Regions from separate parts of the Homo sapiens genome. Here region 1 is linked to region 2. Evidence: promoter capture Hi-C in 16 types of primary human blood cells and fetal thymus (Javierre and others, 2016). All regions are on one chromosome and are shown on one strand. Each heading gives the region's core, a stretch centred on a gene start or on the middle of the fragment in contact. The rest is flanking DNA. Distances are from core to core; before and after follow the strand shown. Region 1 overlaps PDK1-AS1 (PDK1 and ITGA6 antisense RNA 1). Region 2 holds the start of PRKRA (protein activator of interferon induced protein kinase EIF2AK2).

Evidence for each region. The method cuts DNA at HindIII sites, captures the fragments that hold promoters and counts their contacts. A CHiCAGO score of 5 or more calls a contact.
Region 1: a contact is called between a fragment that was not itself captured here and the fragment with the promoter of PRKRA in region 2, in 1 of 17 cell types (neutrophils). The highest score is 6.1, in neutrophils.

The regions. Positions count from the first base shown.
Region 1 is chr2:172,547,340-172,554,280 of GRCh38, forward strand. The region is part of intron 1 of PDK1-AS1 (PDK1 and ITGA6 antisense RNA 1); the gene reads right to left. Among named protein-coding and RNA genes, the nearest start is that of PDK1, 5.3 kb to the right of the region's middle. RefSeq lists enhancers at 1,492-2,234, 2,235-2,976, 5,482-5,776 and a silencer at 5,482-5,776. The HindIII fragment of the contact is 1,167 bases long and covers 3,987-5,153 here.
Region 2 is chr2:178,446,672-178,453,388 of GRCh38, forward strand. PRKRA (protein activator of interferon induced protein kinase EIF2AK2) reads right to left here and starts at 4,504. Exons shown (of 8, transcript NM_003690.5): 1 at 4,295-4,504; 2 at 3,571-3,740; 3 at 834-915. The coding sequence starts at 4,359. It overlaps PJVK (pejvakin), which reads left to right and starts at 4,707. Exons shown (of 7, transcript NM_001042702.5): 1 at 4,707-5,098; 2 at 6,717. RefSeq lists an enhancer at 3,660-4,234 and a silencer at 3,997-4,776. The HindIII fragment of the contact is 1,572 bases long and covers 3,365-4,936 here.

The sequences.
Region 1 (6,941 bases), core at 3,320-5,819, 5.9 Mb before region 2:
GACATATGTCTTCTAATATGTCTCTTCTTGACTTCAGGTTATCAAACTCCAAACTGTAATGCAACCGCAGCTTCAGACAATGGCTCCCTTTTACCGGGGACCCTTAAATAGGCCTCTGAGGGAGATCTGACTGCCATCTTCCCAAAACAGCGGCCCCTGTCAGCAGGAAGCAGTTAAGTTCAGTCTTCATTTCTATTCTAATGGCAGTTAGATGTACCTCCTCAGAGAGGGGAATGGATAGCAGCAGGAGGCAGAAAAATGCCTAGGCAGACAGGGACAGGTAACTGGTGAAACCCCACCTCCAAGCCAAAGACAATTTAAAGCCTAAGAACCAAGTTATAAGTCAAATCCATGAACCAGATTAAGAACCTGTCTTCCAGTTTGGCATGCTTTCCTCTGATTTACCCCTACCCTTCACCTACTTTACATACACCTACCCCTTCCCTAATGGGTTTTTTACAGTCATGCCCACCTTTGATTCATGCCTGTGTTTTAATCTTTTTTGCATATTCACAAACCAGCACGTACTCCCCTATTCTGAGCCCATAAAAGCCCTGGACTCAGCCACACTGGGAAAGAAACCGCCCAACTTCAAGTGGGGGACCACCCCCATGTCCTGCCTCTATTGAGAGCTCTTCTCTTGCTCAATACAATTCTTTTCCGCCCTCCTCACCCTTCAATTGTCAGAGTACGCGCATTCTTCTTGGACACAGGACAAGAACTTAGGGACCGCTGTATGTGGGTACGAGCTATAACACAGGGGGGCTGGGGCCCAGCCTGGGTGGGTCGAAGGGCAGGCCACCTCCTAGGGGCAGGTAGTGTGCCCCACCAAAGCCTGGAGGGGGCATCACCAGCCAGAGGTCTCCAGCTGGCAAAGTGACCAAGAAAAATCCTGCATCAACATCAGACAAAATAGTGTCCAGTTATTTAAAGACATTTGAACTGAGTTTTTTGTGCTTGAGTCTGAAAGAGGCCTGGCAAATACAAAGTAAAAATCTGTCAACACAAATGTCAGGCCTCTGAGCCCAAGCTAAGCCATCATATCCCCTGTGACCTGCAAGTACACATCCAGATGGCCGGTTCCTGCCTTAACTGATGACATTCCACCACAAAAGAAGTGAAAATGGCCTGTTCCTGCCTTAACTGATGACATTGTCTTGTGAAATTCCTTCTCCTGGCTCATCCTGGCTCAAAAGCTCCCCCAATGAGTACCCTGTGAACCCCACTCCTGCCAATCAGAGAACAACCCCCCTTTGACTATAATTTTACTTTACCTACCCAAATCTTATAAAATGGCCCCATCCTTATATCCCTTTGCTGACTCTCCTTTCGGACTTAGCCCGCCTGCACCCAGGTGATTAAAAGCTTTATTGCTCACACAAAGCCTGTTTGGTGGTCTCTTCACACAGATGTGAGTGAAAACCATTGCACCTCTGAAAGGATTAACAAAATAAAATAAGTATTTGGTTATTCTGCCCCTCCTTAGTTGGTTTACCCAATGAGCTTCTCCCTTGTAAACCAAAAATAAAATTCGGCTGGGGCAGTGGCTCAGGCCTGTAATCCCACCACTTTGGGAGGCGAGGTGGGCAAATCATCTGAGGTCAGTAGTTCAAGACCAGCCTGACCAACAGGGTGAAACCCCATCTCTACTAAAATTACAAAAATTAGCCAGGTGTGGTGGCACATACTTGTAATCACAGCTACTCGGGAGGCTGAGGTTGGAGAATCACTTCAACCCAAGAGGCGGAGGTTGCAGTGAGCTGAGATCATGCCACTACACGTCAGCCTGGGCAACAGAGTGAGACTCTGTCTCAAAAAATATATATATTCTAAACCCTCCAACCAACTGAATGGACCCCTCCTTTTGGCCAAGAGCATTCCAAAGTTAACCTGAGAAACTAGTTCAGGCCATGATGGGAAGGCGGGGTCAGACATGTCTCATTATTCTGTCCTCCCTTCTGGAATTTAGGTACAGCTGACCAGCATTAACATTAACATAGAGATTTTACATCTGACAAAACAGACTGTTTGTAGCCTAAGATACCAACATGACAAGGAGCAGGTTCTGCAAGAAACTAAAGATTTTATCCCAAAATATATTTCTTGACATATTTTGAAATGGCCCTGCAAAGCTGTCTCTTGTGGGGAAAATCTACATTCTACAGAGAATCCTCTTCCCTTTCCAAGTACTTTCCCTGATTCAGAAGGGAATTAACTAACTCTGGCACCTTTTTAAAGTCTGATAAGAAACAGTTACAAGGTTGGGCACAGTGGCTCACGTCTGTAATCCCAGAACTTTGGGAGGCCGAGGACTCCCAAACTCTGTAAAATATTTGAAGAGATTTATTCCGAGCCAAATATGAGTGACCATGGCCCCGTGACACAGCTCTCAGGAGGTCCTCAGAACATGTGCCCAAGGTGATTGGGGCACAGTTTGGTTTTATACATTTTAGGGAGGCATGAGACATCAATCAAATACATTTAAGAAATACATTGGTTTAGTCCTGAAAGGTAGGACAATTCAAAGTTGGGGCTTCCAGGCTATAGGTAAATTTAAACATTTTCTGATTTACAATTGGTTGAGTTTATCTAAAGACCTGAGATCACAGAAAGGAAATGTTCAGGTTAAGATAAAGGATTGTGGAGACCAAGGTTCTTTTGAAGTTTTATTGTGGCTGCCCTCAGAGACAACAGATGACAAACGTTTCCTATTCAGATCTTTAAAAGGTGCTAGACTTTAAGTTAATCTTTTTAGGATTGGGAGGGCCTGGAAGTAAAAGATCTAGCTATGTTAATAGAGATTCTTTACTGATGCAAATTTTCCCCCACAAAAGACAGATTTGCAGGGCCATTTCAAGATATGGCAAAAAAACATGTTTTGGGATAAAATATTTTGCTTTTCTTCCTTGTCATGTAATGTTATTCCAGAGTCAGGGTGAAAAGTAAGTCTCGATATATAGGGTTAAATAAAACCCATCTGATGAGAATTTATGGTTTGTAGGGCATGACTCCCCAGAACTCTTAGATAGGAATTTGGGCAAGATAAAAAAATCAGAATTTACTCCTCAGTAGCAACACATGACAGATAGCAGGTCCTGAAATAAACTGAAGTGTTTTACTACAAAACATATTTTTTTGACATATTTTGAACTAGCCCTGCAAAGCTATTTCTTCTGGGGAAAATCTATATTCTGTAGAGGATCCCCTTCCCTTTCCAGGTTTTTCCTTTTAAGGTCTGACACCTTTTTAGGTCTGATAAGAGACATTTACTATCTGTTCTCTCTGAAGCCTGCTATGTGGGACCTTTATCTGTGTAATAAGAATCTTGGTCTCCACAACCCCTTGTCTTAATCCAGACACTCCTTTCAATTGATCCTAGGTCTTGAGATAGTAACTTAACTCTTTCAACCAATTGCCAGTCAGAAAATCTTTGACTCTCCCTATAACCTGGAAGCCCCCTCCTGCCACAAGTTTCCCAATCCCCCTATATTACGTCTTAAAGTTGTCCTGCCTTTTCAGACCAAAGCAGTGTACGCTTTACATGTACTGAGTGATGTCTGCCTGCAACTTCTGTTCCCCTAAAACTGTACACAATCAAGCTATGACCCGACCACCTTGGGCACATGTTTTCAGGACCTCTTGGGACTGTGCCTCAGGCCTTGGTCACTCACATTTGGCTCGGAATAAATCTCTTAAAATATTTTACAGAGTTTGAGTCTTTTTTTTAAATCAACAGTTCAAATAAATTTTTAAAACTTTTAATGTGCCCAAATTTATCTTTTAACATTACCAGTCTCAGTTTGTGAAAGTCTAGAGTTCTCCCTGTCCATGTCTGTAAATTCTTGAGGCTCATAGTCTCATTTATAGTACCCCCCACCCCACCACCACTCAGACTCTTTGTGTGCAAAGTCTATCTCCATTGCCACAAACTCTCATAAAAAAAATTCATCCTTTCCTCCAATTTTCACAAAAGCACAACACATAAAAGCTTCAGTATCCAATAATCTCTCTTTTTTTGCAAACTTTACTGAAGGTTTGGGTTATAAGGAGTGCTCACATTGTGAACAGTCTTTGCAATCTTCTGCCTCCTCCCCTTCCCCTTTGCTCTACAAAGTGAATTCCTCTCCTTGCTTCCTGTAAAGCTGTTCTGAGCCTTCCCTACAGATCTCTCCTTCCACTCCATCAGCATTTCAAAGCACTTACTCCAGATAAAAACTATGTTTGTGCTAAATAAATCCTGGTGAATAGGATGCCCTCATATCACTACACAAGTAATTACCTGAATCAAAGTACCCTTTAAAGAAAGAAGGCAAATGTATATGGAGAAAAATTATGCTTCAGTGGAATATTACGTATTGTTTAGAGCACAACTTTTCAGGGTATCTGATTCCAATTCACTGTCTTTGAGCTATTTTACAACTCTGTAAATTGCAGATAAATGGTAACAACGCACATAATTCTTACCTATACATGTGCAAATAAATTCTGTCAGGTAGAAGGGCAACCCTCCCTGATTCCCAAGGAAAGAGCCAGTTTTACAGCCTTTGCAAATTTTTCTGAATTCCTGTTTTTTCACTTCTCCTTTGAACTGGCTATAATATCTTTACTGGTTCCCTCATTTAATTAATGTATTAAATAAAATTTTTGACACATGTTCATTTTATAGCTGCATGAGAGTCATTATTTTACCTTTTTTGAAAATTATCTTTCCAGCATATCAAAAAGGGTTCTAGGGCAGGAAATGATAGCACACTCAAAAGGGAAATTGATTAATTAATTAATGAAGGGACTATTTACAGGAGTGTGGGCAGAATTAAACCTCCAGGGCTGGTGAGCACCCAATCAGCAACAGAGAAAAATTAGTACTATCTCTATGGATACTGGACAAGGGTAGGAAGCTATGGCCACACTTAGAGGAACACAAATTATAGCTTGGAAGAAAAGAAGCAGGGGGAAAAAATATGACTTTTCTTTCCTTTTGTCTTCTGAACCTCATGAAGCCAGAGGGTACTGGGGACAAGGTGACACAGTCTAGCTTGTTTTGTATTGCTTTTTCCATTCCTTTCAGTCACATCAGTCCAACATGGATCACAAATTCTCAGTGAATTTACAGGGGCTGGCTCATGTCTGCTATGTAAAAATTTTTTTATAGAAGCTTACAGTATGATTACACTTTATATCTACATGTGTGTCTTAGTCTGTTAGTGGTGCTGTAACAAAATACAGTCTGGATAATTTATAAATGACAGAAATTAGTTTTCTTACAGTTCTAGAGGCTGTGAAGTTCAAGATCAAGATGCCGGAACTCAGTGTCTCATAAGGGCTTTCTTGCTGTGTCCTCATGTAACCATCCAATAGGTTTTTCTTGCCTGCTGACCAGATAGAGCCAATTTATCAAGACAAAGAGTTTAGTGCATGTGGAGCTGGCTAAACAGAAGATGAGTTTTATTACTACTCAAATTAACCTCCTGAAAATTCAGAGGCTAGGGTTTTTTTATAGTTTGGCAGACAGCAGGCTATAGAATGGGGAATGCTGATTGGTTGGGTCAGGAATAAAATTATAGGGAGTCGAAGCTGTCATCTTATGCTGAGTCAGTTTCTGGAGGGGGCCACAAGACCAGATGAGTCATTTTACTTATCTGTGTGGTTCCAGCTGGTCCACTGGAATTCAGGATTTGAAAAATAACTCAAACACCAATGTTAGGTTTTATAATAGCAATGTTATCTATAGGAGCAATTGTGGAGGTTGGTGATCTTGTGGACTCTGGCTGCATGACTCCTGAGCTATAATTTCTAATCTTCTAGTTAATTTGTTAGTTTACTTATTTTTTGAGACAAGGTCTCGCTCTGTCACACAGGCAGAAATGCAGTGGCAGGATCTTGGCTCACTGCAAACTACACCTCCTGGGCTCAAGTGATGCTCCCCACGAAGCACTACAGGCAAGTGCCACCATGCCCAGCTAATTTTGTTCATTTTTTGTAGAGACAAGGTCTATGTTGCCCAGGCTGGTCTCGAACTCCTGGACTTACACAATCCTCCCATTTTGGCCTCCCAAAGTGCTGGGATTACAGGCATGAGCCATTGTGCCCTGCCTAATCTGTTAGTTTAACAAAGGTGGTCTGGTCCCCAGGAAAGCTGGGGATTTGTTTCATGGAAGAGCTCTTATCATCTTTGTTTCAAAGTTTGTAATCTAAATTCCTCCCAAAGTTAGTTTGGCCTATGCCCAGGAATAAACAAGGGCAGCTTGGAAGTGAGAAGCAAGATGGAGTTGGTTAGGTCAGATCTCTTTCACTGTCAAAATTTTCTCACTGTTATAATTTTTCAAAGGCAGTTTCACTCACATGGTAGAAGAGATGGTAGGAACTGACTCACCCCCTCACGCCCTTTTATAAGGCTCTGCCCTCATGACTTAATTCTCTCCTAAAGGCTCCACCTCTTAATACTATCACATTGATAATTAAGTTTCAACATAGAAATTTTAGGGGACACATTCAGACCATAACAACAGAGAAGTAATACAGCTGTTTACTAAAGTCCTCAAAGGTTCTCTCCAGTTTCTGGACTCTAAGTCTTTGACTAAGAAGCAAAAGTTGACACCATTTAATATGTACTTTTATATGCACATTCTCTGTATATTGGTTGAAGCATGGTGAATATACTTTGGAGAAAGGAAAAAGCACTTTATACAACAGTTGATTCCTTCCTGAGGGAAAAAAATCTTGCTAAAATAGTCTCAAGGTTTCTGCTGGGCCTTTGTACTTTCACGCAAATTAATGTTCAGCTGAGCATCTTGACATGCTCAGGCAGAAAGCAGCAAAATTGCAAACAGGGATTGAGGGAGCTGAATAATGCTGTGCATGATAAAGTGACAAGACTTTGGAGCTCAGGGAATAATCTAGAAGGAAGGAGATTAGAAAGGAGGAGGCAACCTGAGAGGCTG
Region 2 (6,717 bases), core at 3,254-5,753:
ACTTTAATATGTGAGATGCTCCAGGACCAATATTCTATCTAGAAACACCTAAAGTAGTAAAAAATCTATCCCAGCACTTTGGGAGGCCGAGGCTGGCGGATCACGAGGTCAGGAGATCGAGACCATCCCGGCTAAAACGGTGAAACCCCGTCTCTACTAAAAATACAAAAAATTAGCTGGGCGTAGTGGCGGGCGCCTGTAGTCCCAGCTACTTGGGAGGCTGAGGCAGGAGAATGGCGTGAACCCGGGAGGCGGAGCTTGCAGTGAGCCGAGATCCCGCCACTGCACTCCAGACTGGGCGACAGAGCGAGACTCCGTCTCAAAAAAAAAAAAAAAAAAAAAAAAATCTTACTTTAGAAAGATATGTCAAGAATTAATATCCCACTTAACATTCTCTTCTTTTGGTATACATTATATAATAAAAGAAAACCTCTGCCTGCTTCTTCAAAATTAGAATTCCCAAAAGAGTACTTTTAGTGGATCTTTCTCCATCTCACACTTTGTTTTCTTCAATGTAGAAATAATCAAAGTCTAAATACAAAATGTTAATATTAATATTTGCAAGAAGCACTGATTTTCTACTGTTGTATCCCATTAAAAAAAAAAAAACAGTAAAGCCTAGTTCATGAGCACCTTCATTTAATAGCTAATTGCTGGATTTGATTGGATAAAGTTTTCTTTAATGGATGATAAGTTTTCATAAGGAAATAGAATTTGAGAGGTAGGATGCTAACAACTGTTCACTTTGTTGCTTTTGTAAGCATGTTCAAATTTTTAATCTTACCTCAGCCATGATATTTTTGAGCTGCTGAATACAAAGAAATTTAGCTCACCAAATACTTGCATTGGCTTTCAAAATGTTTATGGCAGCCTCTGCAGCTCTATGTTTCGCCAGCTTCTTACTTGTACCTTCACCTGAATTAAGATTTAAAAAAAGAAGTCTTTATCTCCCACAAAAATGTGCAGCTTACAAAGATGTTTTCAATACACAAAACAAAGTCACTATAGATTTTACATACACATACTAGGTAATAAAAATATGTACGTTATATACTGTACATAAAAATATGTACATGTTATATACTACATGGTTATATACTGTAATAAAATATTCACCATGTGAAAAAATTTTAAAAAATAACTTTTTAAAGTTCTATATAATTCTATGCATACCTGCATAAAAATCCTTATTTCTACATTATATATGTTTATTATATAACATGGTAATAAAGTAGACCGTGTCACACCTCTGAAGAAATGCAGATTAGTATTTTACTCTTCCTTTATTCCTGGAGGGGAAATTCTTCTGCAGCAAGAAGTTTCTTTTAAAGGAACCATTTACAGCAGAATTGTTTGATAGCAAAATGTGCATAATTTTATTCTGACAGCCTGTCCTATAACGTATCAAACTGCTTTGCTAGGCTGAGCAGTCATGATTATGTGTTGGGTACAACAGGAAAGAGTTTTATGGAATAAGGTGACAGCTTGTTATGTATCTTCTGGACGGTCTGTATCTTCTGCATGGGTAGCTAAGTTGGGACTGGGGATAAGACTGATGTCTAATTTCAGTAAGCAATCACAATGGCAAATGATAAATTCCATCTTTTTCCTTTTAAGTTCAAACTCCCATACCCTCATGGAATAAGTTTCAAGTGTGGCCTTCAAGTGTGGCCCTCAAGTGTAAGAAGACACAGAAACCATATATTTATCTGCTAACACAGGTATTAGGGATATAGCATACAGGGTCCCTGCCCTCAAGAGCCAACAGAGTAGTGTGGGATTTTTGTCTGTTAATAGGCACCTGAAGTATGGAATGGGATATGTTACAACAAGCCTAAGTGCAGGCTGTAGCGGAGGTTGCAGTGAGCCAAGATCATGCCACTGCACTCTAGCCTGGGTGACAGAGTGAGACCCTGTCTCAAAAAAAAAAGAATGAACACTGGTTGTAATGTGACAAAAGGACATCACAAGACTAGAAGGTAAACGTGTAGCTACAAGACTGCAGCTACAATCCAAGTGAGAGATGATGGTGGCCTAGGCAGTAGCAATGGCCAGAAGAGAGAAGCCGACAGATTCAATGGATAGTTAGTGGATTATTAAACGCCAATGGATAGAGTTTAATAACAGACTGGACAAGAGGGAGAAAGACGGGAAGTAGTTAGGAAGACAAAAGCCTACATTTCTACTGAACTAGGTGATTGTGGAGCCTTTACATAGAAAGGGAATGCAAGAAGAATGGGTTTGAGGGAAAAGATGGATTCAGTTTGGGACAATGAGAGGCTTGAGGGGCCTCTGTGTCATCCAGGCAAAGATGCTCAGCAAGCACAGACTGATACACTATTCTGTAACTGGGCTTGGGATGTAGACAGACATTTCAGAATATTAGTCTTTAGACAGTATCAGAAGCCATGGAGGCAGATAAGCTTGCACAGGAAGCCATGGTAGTGTGAGAAGAGGGCGTAGGCAGAACGGTTGCCATAGGTTGTTAATTTGGGGTCTAAAACACATTGAGAGGGAAAAACCCTCCCTTTTCTTGAATTCTTCCTATCTAGAAATAGACTAGCTAAAGTAAGTAATGCAGTGTTGACTCTATGGTTCCCATGGGGACCCTTCCGGCCAGCACCTACAATCTAACTGCCTCACACAAAAAGTTTTAAACTTTTCTTAAAGTGGCATCAATTAAAATAAAAGACTCCAAACTTCCAGGGACACAAACAAATGCTGTCTTCAGATTTTCCAGATGGTAGAACTTGAGCCTTCCTACTAAATTTTTTTCTTGGCATTCTTCCAAATTAAATTTAGCATCCAATGTTTTCTGTGTTTGCAATTAAATAGATACATAAGAAAAATAATGTCCACATTTACAAATGAGCAACTTTAGTTATCATTTGCTCAAGCTCACAGACCAAAAGAAAGCATGAACTTTAAAATTTCATTGCTTTGTGACTTCATTGCTATACGCATGTTACTTATAATCTCTCTGAACCTGTTTCTTCTTGTTTAAAAAGTGGATAATATACAAAATATCTGTTCAGTTTCAAAAACTAGAAGTTATTATGTAATATATGAGGACCTTCTCCCCTTCCTCATTTTGTTTGGATACAGAATCAAAAGTAGCACAATGGACCTAAAGTGCCAAATGAGTCCATACAGAGAGGAGAGACGCTCAGAAAATTCTGGGGTCATGCCTCCTGGCATCCGCTATAATCTATGAAACTTCACAGTACCTACTGACCCAGCTATGACTGCTCCAAGAACCTTTCCTGCTTCCCTCTAATTCTAAGAAGAACCCTAGGAGGATCCTAGGGTATGAGAAGAGCCATGCAGGATCCAGCCATCCGGCTGGGTAACTTTTTAGTTTCTAAGCTTCCTTGGTATGTGGGGAAGAGAAAATTAGGAAGAGAATCAGATGCAGCTGAAAAGCCCTAACGACCTGAGATGAGAGGTCTCAGTTTCAGAGCCTGTTCCTCACAGCTGTCTGGCAAAAAGAGAACTTTTCCGAACTGAAAAGCAACACCAAGTATTGACTGCCAACCCACTCGGTCATCCAGGTTAACTGTGTATACAGACCTGTGCAGGTTATGTCACCAACGGTTACTCTGAAGGTGAAAGTGGGCACGTGTATTTGCACATCAGATCTTTCACATTCATAAACTGGGATGTTCTTGGTCTTCATGCCGTATTCGTGTAATACCTGAATCGGTGTTTTCCCTGGCTTAGCTGTTATCATCTTCCCCAAACTGCAAAAACCACAAAAAGGTGTGCTTTGCATGCCAAATTGGAGATTGAAGCAGAAGCGTAGAGGCCAGTTTTAACCGCCACCGACGGTGACGAGGGAGGCGCCGAGTTCCCCGGAGGCCAGGGCCAGAGCTGGCGAGGCTGGGGCGCACCTGTCTTCCGGCCCCGCTGCGGCAGTCACTCCGCAGGAGCAGGCGGGGTGAGCGAGGTCTTTAGAGAGAGCACTTGAATGCGGGTAGGAGAGATTCTCAACAGAACAGGGCTGGCAGCAGCGCCGCAGCCTCTCAGGGAAAACCTGACGATCCCTTCCCGGGCGCGCCGACCGAGCGTCACCTCCGCCCGCCCCGCGCGCCGCCAGGGACCACGAGAGGGGCGGGGCCCGGCCGCAGACCCCAACCCTCGCCGCCGAGAGGGCGGGGCCGAGCACCCACAGCCGCGGAGGCGTGGGCGCCGGGCACGGCTTTACCCAGAATGCCTCTGGAGGGCCGGCTCCCCGCGCCCCGGCCCTGCCGCCCAACGCTCCCGGCCCTGGGGCCCTGACTGCCCGCACGCTGACCTGAAGGTCCCACTGTCCTCGCGCTCCAGCGGCGGGGCCTCGGCGCGGTGCCTGCTCTGGGACATGGCGAGAAGGGACGGCTCAGCGGCTGGAGGAAGAGCGGTGCGGAGCGACGTGCTCGCTCCCCGGGTCGCTGGTCCCCGGGAGGAGCTCCAGCGCCGCCACCTCCTCCGACTCCCCCGCCTCCTGCTTGCGTTGCTCCAGCGAGGGGGCAGGCAGGGTGGGGGCGGAGCCTTGGTGCCGTAGCTCCGGCTACGCCCCCTCGCTGCTCCTCTGCGGGCCTCCGTCCCGGCCCAACTCCGCCCCTGTCCCTTCCAGGGTCCGCCCCCTTCCCGCCCGGCTCCGCCCCGCTCCCGCGTGGGCACAGGCATTGGGCTCCCGGGGGTTCTCCGCGCCCGCCCCTGCCGGCCCTGACCAGCCTGTAGTAACTGGCCCCTAGGCCGCAGTTCTTTGTCCTTAGCAGGAGGCCGTTTCTTGCCGGGAGAGAGGGATTAGAGGGATTGTCCGGCGTGGGTCTAGGGTCGTTGAGGCCTAAAGTTAAGCCTTTGTGGGGAGGACGGATTGGGGGCTGGGTCACTTTAAGAAAAAGATTCTAAAATTACGAAGGCAGAATTCCAGGGAGTCTCCCGGGCCTGGTCCTGAAGCTTGAGACCCCGGATATATACGCTCCAGGGGGCTGCGGTGCGCTCTTCGGGTCCCCGAGCCCTGTGTTTAGGAACACGCGGGGACGTCCAAACACCCGCTCCTCTCCCGCCGGGCGGGCTCCTTTGTCTTCTGGGCTTTCGTCGCGAGATGGAACGCTGGGTCAGTGCATCCCAGCAAAACACGTTAGGAGTAAACGAAGGCCTTTCCGGGGACCTGGGTAGTCGGTTGTAATGGCGTTTGCCTGGGATGCAGCACCTTTGGTGGGCCATTAGATGACGTGTCGCTTCTCCAGGGGCTTGCTAGGCACTAGCAGAAATGCTCCCCTGTGCTTACTCGGTGTTATGGAAGATTGCTTGCACAATGCTATTCGTACGAAAGGATATTATTAAAAGTGATTTATGGGCGGGCGCGGTGGCTCACGCCTGTAATCCCAGCACTTTAGGAGGCCGAGGCTGGCGGATCGCCTGAAGTAAGCAGTTCGAGACCAGCCTGGCCAACATGGTGAAACCCTGTCTCTACTAAAAATACAAAAATTAGCCGGGCGTGGTGGCATGCGCCTGTAATCCCAGCTACTCGGGAGGCTAAAGCAGGAGAATCGCTTGAACCCGGGAGGCAAATGTTGCAGTGAGCCGAGATCGCGCCACTGCACTCCAGCCTGGGCGACAGAGTCAGACTCCCTCTCAAAAAAAAAAAAAAAAAAAAAAGCGATTTGTTGTTTTGTTAGCATGTAAGCCCTGGATGCTTGAAACAAGTGAAAGATGTTCAGAATCTAATCAAATTATATCATCTGATGCTTTAATTAGAGCCTATTCTCTCTTCCTCTCCGTCTATATATGTATGTATATAGATTACTATCCATCACTGTTTTAATGGATATCTTATTGGAAGGGCTACATAGTCAGTATTTCACAATATATGAACTCCGCATAACACCTATGGCAAAACATTTCAGCACTCAGGTAAAATTCATTTTTTGCCACAAAATTACTTAAAAACAGGCCAGAACTTTATATAGCTCTTGTTAAAGGTTAAGTAGCTGGGATAATAATGAAACAAAAAGATGCAGCAGGACTCCATTTCAAAGAGAGAGAGTCTGTGTGCCCAACTTCAGAGTAAGAAACCACTAGGTAATAGTTTATATAGTTACTTATATGTAATGTGGCTTTATTTTTTAAATAAAGATTTGCATATAATTGTTTATATCTGTGAATTTATATTTAATATTAAACACAGTTTTGTAAGCATATAAGATGGAAAATGAATGAAATGCTCAATCAATGAGCTGTATGCCATGAGGATTCAAAACAGCACTTTGGTGTTGCCAAAATTCCGGTGGTGGACTTGTGAAGGAATTCCCTTTGGACTAGGTCCACTGTAGATTGTATCCGGGACTATCGTTAGTGCCTAAATTGCATTGCTTCCCACAGCACTATATGCTTCCCTTAAAATTGGCCCATTGCCAGTGGCAAATCACTATCTACTGTGATCCTTATCATAGACATTGGTCATATTTTTACGTTATTAGTTTTCTGTGTATATTTTAGTGCTATAGCCTGCCATTCCAAGTTAAACATGCTCTTAGCATATCATTTTACACCGTTGATCTATAATTCATTACCTGAGCACATGAGCAGAGGCAGGGAATTATACAGTGGTAAACTACTTGGTGAAACCATGCTTTGTATTTTTAAGATGTATAATTATATTTAAAAACAAGCAATGCTTAATTTTGTGCCTGATTTTCCTCTTTAAAAATGGATTTATCTGGGGGTTGCAGT